Regions from separate parts of the Homo sapiens genome. Here region 2 is linked to region 1. Evidence: promoter capture Hi-C in 16 types of primary human blood cells and fetal thymus (Javierre and others, 2016). All regions are on one chromosome and are shown on one strand. Each heading gives the region's core, a stretch centred on a gene start or on the middle of the fragment in contact. The rest is flanking DNA. Distances are from core to core; before and after follow the strand shown.

Region 1 (4,058 bases), core at 571-3,070:
AATTACAAGACTGCAAAATGCTGGGCAGGAGCCATATCTGGTGCTGGTGCTGGGGCGGGGGAAGGGAGAGCATTTGGAAAGGTTAAGCTGAGCCCTGGAGGAAGAGGAGGAGCTACTGGAAGGGGAGGACTGCATGAAGTGCCTTGCAGGCAGCAGGAATAGTATATGTAGGGCCAGAAATGGGAGGAAAGAGATGACCAGCCTTGCTGGGGTATGCATGGCTAGTGAGAGAGAAAGACTTCAGATAGGTAAGAAGAGGTGGAGTTTGTTGCTTTGCAACAATGTTTGGGATGTCACATTCATTTCTACGGGAAATAGGGAGCCACAGATGGCTCAACGCCATCCATTGAGAGTCACTTTACTAGTTCAGCTCTCTCAGGGCATCTTGATTTCCAAGTTGCCAGGAGTACTTCATTGGACCCTCCATGTACTGACAACAGATCCTTCTAACTGTAATTGCACTTTGAGGTTTTGAAGCAAAGACTCCATTTTTCTCACCCCTGTATCCCCAGGGCACACAACACAGGGCTTTGGCACTGAACTAAACTGATTTTTTTTTTTTAATGTGCAGATCCTGAGACTACCCTCCCAATCCTGAGTGATAACTCCCGCTTTGAAGACTCAAATCCAGGCTTTAGCACTTTTGTCTCTGTAACTTTGAACCAGTGACTGCCACCTGGAAGAACTTTGCCTTTTCTGTAGAATAGGTATAACTGTGGTACCTATTGTGGGAGGTCAGACTATGCTCCCCAAATATGAAGGATTGTTGAGCTGGAAACAATTAAGAAACCAGTACAGGAGAGCTCTCTGCCTGCCCTCTATTAGCCTAAAATCAGGGCACACATTTGAGGATTATTATTACTCCCCTACACCATCATAGAGGGCTTCCCATAGCACCCACTCAAGAATATTGTTATTATTACATCATATGGTTAAGATTACTGACAAGCAAAAGTCAAGTGGATCTGAAATAGAATCCAAGACAAGGGGCTGGGCGCGGTGGCTCACGCCTGTAATCCCAGCACTTTGGGAGGCCGAGGTGGGTGGATCATTTGAGGTCAGGAGTTCGAGACCAGCCTGACCAACATGGTGAAACCCTGTCTCTACTAAAAATACAAAAATTAGCTGGCTGTGGTGGCGGGCGCCTGTAATCCCAGCTACTCGGGAGGCTGACGCAGGATAATTGCTTGAACCAGGGAGGTGGAAGTTGCAGTGAGCCGAGATCACGGCCACTGCACTCCAACCTGGGTGGTGGCGCGCGCCTGTAATCCCATCCGCACGGGAGGCTGAGGCAGGAGAATCGCTTGAACCCAGGAGGCAGAGGTTGCAGTGAGCCGAGATAGCGCCACTGCCCTCCAGCCTGGGTGAGAGCAAGACTCCTTCCCAAAGGGGGAAAAAAAATCCAAGACAAGGGATCCTGAGCAAGCCCTCTCACTCTCCGAACCTGTTTCCCCATCTGTAATATGGGGAGAAAGTTCGCAGGGTAATTCGGAAAGGTCCAATGCGCACAGAAAGCGCTCAGCACGCGTGAGAATAGATACCATTTTTATTTGTTAATTTTAAACATTAATTACGTTTAAAAGAATCAGTGCTACTATTGTTGTCCCGGACTAGAGGCGGCTTGCGCTGCCGGCTCCAAGCACAGAGCCCAATTATGTCCTCCCTTTTGCGGCGCTGCCACCCGCGCAGCCCCCAGCCGATGCAGGGGAGGTGTGGCCCGCGGATGGGCGGAGCGATCTCAGGACTCGCCCCCAAGACCAGTAGGCGGGGCCAGGCGGGGCGCCCGGGCACTCTCGCACGCGCGCGCGCGGCGGCCCCAGGTACGCGGACAAGATGGCGGCGGCAGCAGTCGACAGCGCGATGGAGGTGGTGCCGGCGCTGGCGGAGGAGGCCGCGCCGGAGGTAGCGGGCCTCAGCTGCCTCGTCAACCTGCCGGGTGAGGTGCTGGAGTACATCCTGTGCTGCGGCTCGCTGACGGCCGCCGACATCGGCCGTGTCTCCAGCACCTGCCGGCGGCTGCGCGAGCTGTGCCAGAGCAGCGGGAAGGTGTGGAAGGAGCAGTTCCGGGTGAGGTGAGCCAGCGGCCCCGCGCCCCGGCTGCGCGCCCACCGCCCCGCGCCCCCCGGGGCCGGGCAGCCGCCCCGCTAGCTCCCCGCGGCCGCCCCGCGCGCGGACCCCACCCCGGACCCCTTCCCGCGGACAGACAGACAAAGGCCTCCAGGCCCCGGACCCTGCGGGGCCACGCCAGGCGGACCCCCGGGTCCCCAAATGGCGCATCTAGGAGCGCCTCGCAGCCGGGTCCTCCGTCAAGGGTGACGCTGGCGGCGGCGCGGCTCGTCCCTTTTGCGCGCTTCTTTTGTGCCCGACTTCGGGCTGAAATGTTTACATGGACCCAGTGATGCATCGATCGGGCGGGCGCAGCATCCCCGGGCTGGTTGTGGACGGCACAGATTTCAGCGTGGCCCCAGGATGAAATCTGGCCCTGCACACTCCCTCTGTGACCTTGGGGGGAGCGACTTCCCTTTTTTTGAGCCTCGTTCATAGACTTTGAGTGGTGGTGATCATTAGACCTACCTTTCACCGTGTTTATTAAATTAGATGATGTCCGGGAGGCACGCACGCAGGGCCCCGGCTCCTAGGAGGCGCTCAATCAGTGCTCACTGTCATTGTCATTATTATTATTGTTGTTGTTGTTACAACTGTCCCCATTTTAGAGATGGGGAATGGAGACATCATTCATGCCGCTACGCCAAGGTCACACCGGGAGTGAGTGAGTGAATGCTGGTGGGGTTTTGAACTAGGTCTCTCGCCGGGGTCCCTCTTACCACTGGACGCCACTGCTGTCCCTGTTTCCAAGGCTGCCTTGGATTCGTGGCCGCCTGCCTTTGAGTTTCTGTTAAGCTGAGGGGGTGTTTCTCTCCTCGTAGGTGGCCTTCCCTTATGAAACACTACAGCCCCACCGACTACGTCAATTGGTTGGAAGAGTATAAAGTTCGGCAAAAAGCTGGGTTAGAAGCGCGGAAGATTGTAGCCTCGTTCTCAAAGAGGTTCTTTTCAGAGCACGTAAGGATCTGTTGATGTGGCTCTAAGCTTTGGCTTGCTGGTGTATGTGTCTGGGTCTGCAGGCATGAGCTCATCCAGCTCTTTTCGTATCTCCCTTTTCAATGCTCTCACAATCCCTTACTCACTTAGATGGCTGCAAGAGTCATTGTGTCCTTTTCCTCCTATCCAACAACACGAAGCCATTTGTCTGTGCCAGCTTTACTTTTCTAAAGCCAGAGAGAGAGTGGGGGTGGAGGGAGCAGGGAGGGACCCACGCAGCACAATGTAGACGGAGTCCAGATCAGCATTATTTCTCAAATGGGTTCAACGGATTTTTTTTGCAACCCCTCCGTTATTTGGGGAATCATCAATGATTGAACACTGTAAATTTCTCCCGGTTGTTTTCCCAGAAGGGTTGACGAAATTAATGTGGTTCTTCTCTCTGGCTTTGCAGGTTCTACCCAGTAGTGAACTGCATTATTTGTTAAGGTAACAGAGGATTAAAAGCTACCTATAAATCAGAGTTATTACTCCCTGAAATGAATTGTCTTGCATTCATTATCCCTGAAAAGTTTTTGGGTTTTTTTTTTTTTTTAAGTATTGCAGAAATACATGGTGGGTTTTTTTTGTTTTGTTTTGTTTTGTTTTCTTTTTTTCTTTCCTCAAAATGTCTCATGGAAGTTTCTTTCTTTTTTCTTTTTTTGAGACAGAGTCTTGCTTTGTCTCCCCGGCTGGAGTGCAGTGGCGCAATCTCAGCTCACTGCAACCTCCTACTCCTGGGCTCGAGCAATTCTCATGTCTCAGCCTCCCGAGTAGCCGGGACTACAGGCATGCGCCACCATACCTGGATAATTTTTGTATTTTTAGTAGAGTTGGGGTTTCACCATGTTGGTCAGGCTGGTCTTGAACACCTGGTCTCAAGTGATCCGCCGGCCTCTGCAAACCAAAGTGTTGGGATTACAGGCGTGAGCCACCGTGCCTGGCCTCACGGAAGTTTCTGTATCTGCCCCTGATCC
Region 2 (4,058 bases), core at 630-3,129, 1.2 Mb after region 1:
AGAGAAGACTTCGTTGTAGAAGTAGTAACATTTGCTCAGAGATCTCAATGATGAGTACACATTAACTGAGGAAGGAGAATGGGGAGCGAGGCATGTGTCCCAGACAGGAGGTGCTGCAAGTGGGAAGGCCCTTGGTTGTATGGAGCTTGGGGCCTTTAGAAACTGACGCGAGGTTAGAAGCATGCAGGGGCTAGATTACAGTGACTCTTTAGAGGCATGCTAGGGGTTGGGTCTTCCTGCAAAAAGCAATACAAAGTCATTGAAAGGTTTTAAGAAGAAGCACTGATGTCAGATTTGTGTAGTTAAAAAGGAAAAATAACAATGTGCACTGGCTATAATTCTGGGTATGGATTAGAAAGTGGCAGGAATGGATTTGGGGAGACAAGGAGGTTAGTGAGGAAGACCTAGTAAGAAACAATAGCTTGCCTTAGTGTCCTTGTGAAGAAGGTGGAGAAGAAATATTATTGCAGGACTCAATAGTGAGTTGAGTTTTGGGGATAAGGGAAAGAGAGATGTTGAGGAGTCCCAGATTTGTTACTTGTATACCTGGATAGTCAGTGGTGTTCAAAGATAAGACTATATCTGGAGAGAAAGTTTATAAATTGAGTTGTGGAAGTTTGGAAGTTTTAAAGATCCCTTTTGATATATCCAGGTAGAGGTATCAAGTAGACTCTTGGGCCTTTTGCTCAGGGGAGAGGGAGTGGTTGGCATATAGGTGATAACTTCAATTAAGGGGGCACAGATGAGCTCATTGAGGAGGAGGAGAAAAGTATAGACGAGAAGAGGACCTGGTAGAGCTTAGCTACATTCTGACGGGTATAGGTGAGGCAGAGAAGCGTGAGCCTATCAAGCAGAGAAGGAAGAACCATAGAGGGGGCTTTTGGAAGCCAGGGGTAGCCAGTGTTTCAAGAAAGAGGAAGTGATTGACAGGCATTAAAATGCAAGTGAAGATTTTAAGATAAGGATTAAACATGTCTTCTGACCGTGGTGAGAGCTGTTTCTGTAGAGTGGTGGGAGCAGAGGCCAGACTGGAAGGGTTGTGTGAATGATGTGCGAACCCGGCTTCTGAACAACTCTCAGTCTTGCAGGGAAGAAAGTTATATAAGCTTCTTAAATACAGTTTGAAATCTGAAGTAATTAAAAGTATGTCCAGAGGTCAGTAGAGTATGGGGAGTGATGGGTATTTTCTGACTAGGCCAATCAAGGAAGCTTTCATGGAGGTAGAGATGACTAAGAAAGCATTAAAGGGTTATGCTCATTTGTATAACTGCTTAGGTTCAAGCACAGTGCCTTATACTTAAGCAGACCCTTAATCAGTTTCTACTGAATGAATTTATGAAGTGAAGAAAATGCAGCCTTTCCCCTAAAGAAATGTGGATGATCAGCTTGGGTGAGTCCTTTTACTAGATAGGCCTTCGGACAGAAAAGCAGTCTGTGTGCATGAATCAGTGGTGTCGTCTTTCAGGATGAAAAATAAGACATTTTATTGCAGGGGAGGTCTGGGTTTCAAATTTTAAGATGCCTAAAAGTACCAGATAATGTAAATGAATGTGATGGGAGACATTTGCAAAAGGCAGTGCCTTAAGCTGTCTTTTCAAAACTCACTTTCTATTTTGCAGGCACAGGAATAGGGTTCATAAGAAACGTGCTTGCTTTTAGTTTCCTCAAATCTGTGGTTCTCTTGGTCTGTGATTTCCTGCTTTTGATAGAGCCATTAATACAAGAAGTATTCACTGTTGTTGTTTACTATATGTAAAAAGAAGCACTGGCTGAAGATAAAAGGCAATGAAAACTGCATCAGACTCAGGACAGACAGCAGGGAAGGGGCCATGAGGTGCCTGAGAGGGACAGCTGCTCCTCAGCTCCAGCAAGTGGTGGTTATGCAGGAATATGGGTCTCCCAGTTCAAGGGAAGCTGGCAATCTAGATTTGTGTGTGAAATTTCCTGGAGTGATTTGTTCCAAAGTTTAACAAAATATTCTGTGGACCACCACTTTGCAACCTGTGTTTTACTGATTTAGGGACACGTTTGAAAATGTCTTAAGAATCCTTAATCATCCTGTGTTTCAAATTTAGTTGGCAGATAAATCTTAGATTTCTTTCCATGCCCCTTCCCTCATCAGCTAGAAGGGTAAGAGGGAGGCAGAGTCTTCAGGAATCCAGCTGTGCAGATTCACACCACATCACCTCCAGCGTCATTAGCTCTTTCTGCAGACCTTTTTAAGAATCTGATTTGCATGATGAACCCTCCATCCTGAGAAAAAAATACGTATGTCCAAGCGTGCTTGCACAGTTTTGCATGGAGTTCAGACAACTTTCAAATTTTAGGTTAGAAATCCCTCCCCAGGGCGACTGCTGGGACTAAAGTCATCTGCATTTAGAAGGCAGTGAATCCCATCCGTGCCTGCAGCGGACTTCGGTCCTTGAGGGCTTCAGCTGTGTTTCCCTGTGCCTCTGGCTGCACTGAAGATTGGCCTTCTCTTCATGCATTCTGTATTTTGTGAAAATATTTTTACAATTAGGAGCATTTAAAGAGTTTTTAAAAGCTTTTATTTAAGTTCCATTTTTTCCTACTTATCATATAAACAAAACATTGATATTTGCAAATAAAAGTAATAATTAAGAAACTTTTGCAGCTGTCTTATGAAAATCCTTGGAAACAGATTTCCATGGTTTTAAAAAGTCGCACCTATCCATTTTTCCACTTTTAAACAATTCTTCCATTAAACTTTTTTATATAGAGTAATCCATTTCCCCTTTTATTATTGTTGATACTAAATTATCAATTATTTTCTCTAATTTAGTAGAAGAATATCTTTCCTCCTGACTCCTAAGTCAAATATTTTAGAATCTACTACAGCTAATAACGTCATTGTTCTGAATATAACTGAGGCTCGAGGTGATGGTGAGGAAGAGGAGGGTGCTAGCCCCCTTATCTTCTCTGTTTCTTCTCACTTCTCTTCCAGTGCTGGACATCAGCATGCTCTCCTCCCAGGATGTGGTTCGTATGCTGTTGTCCCTGCAGCCCTTTCTCCAAGATGCCATCCAAAAGAAGCGCACGGGCAGGACCTGGGAGAACATCCAGCATGTGCAGGGACCACTCACTTGGCAGCAGTTCCATAAAATGGCAGGACGGGGAACCTACGGTAGGGTCTTTGTCCTGTTTAAAATTCCTTCTGACTTCAGTGCTGTTCAGTGAAGAGCAGCGTTAGTTACTGTCAAGTCCTTGCGTCACTAACAAAATAGGGGAGTCTTTTTCTTTGACCATTTAGTTTTATAATCTCTTTGTTTTCCTAAAGTTACTTTTGGAGTCAAGTTTCCTACCACCCTTGGCATAATCCAGGTCAGTGAGGAAGCTAATCCCTAAAAAGTGCATTTTTTAGATTCTCCTCATTTTCCCAATCCTCACTGCATTTTCATCTGGATGGACTTCTGGGCCAGTTCTGTCTACTTCATCATAGTCAGAATCATAATGCTTATCTTGAAGGAAATGATGTAGTGCTGCTTGGAAAGTTAATTTTAACTTGTTCTAGTCTGCCCTCTGATCTTACTGAACCTTTATAAACAAATTCTGACTTACTTAATTAAGAGTCCTCATCAGTGACCATTTAATTAGATGATTTCAAAAATACTTTTAAGAATGTCTTGTGAACATGGAGTGACATTTCAGATGCCAGAATTAAGACCAGTGCACCAGGAATTTCAAAATTGTAAGGTTGTGGGAAAAACTCTCTAGCACCTTTCTACACTACAATGTCATTTTAGGTTCGGAAGAATCTCCTGAGCCGTTGCCCATCCCCACTCTGCTGGTAGGCTATGACAAGGATTTCCTCACCATCTCGCCATTCTCCTTGCCGTTTTGGGAGAGGCTCTTGTTGGACCCATATGGGGGCCACCGTGATGTTGCCTATATTGTGGTGTGTCCAGAAAATGAGGCCTTGCTCGAAGGAGCCAAAACTTTCTTCAGGGACTTGAGTGCTGTATACGAGGTGAGGAAGTTACTGTGAAAATTGCTTTTTATGACTTGGATCCTCTGATTGTTTATAGTGATGACTAAAT

The links. The method cuts DNA at HindIII sites, captures the fragments that hold promoters and counts their contacts. A CHiCAGO score of 5 or more calls a contact.
Region 2: a contact is called between a fragment that was not itself captured here and the fragment with the promoter of FBXO21 in region 1, in 4 of 17 cell types (total B cells, fetal thymus, naive B cells and 1 more). The highest score is 7.2, in total B cells.

What each region holds. Positions count from the first base shown.
Region 1 is chr12:117,188,232-117,192,289 of GRCh38, reverse strand. FBXO21 (F-box protein 21) reads left to right here and starts at 1,820. Exons shown (of 12, transcript NM_015002.3): 1 at 1,820-2,072; 2 at 2,928-3,063. The coding sequence starts at 1,834. RefSeq lists silencers at 1,604-1,663, 1,704-1,803, 2,084-2,133 and an enhancer at 2,604-2,693. The HindIII fragment of the contact is 6,345 bases long and covers 1-3,092 here.
Region 2 is chr12:115,986,196-115,990,253 of GRCh38, reverse strand. It overlaps MED13L (mediator complex subunit 13L), which reads left to right. Exons shown (of 31, transcript NM_015335.5): 18 at 2,966-3,145; 19 at 3,765-3,988. Among named protein-coding and RNA genes, the nearest start is that of LINC02463, 100 kb to the right of the region's middle. The HindIII fragment of the contact is 1,336 bases long and covers 1,212-2,547 here.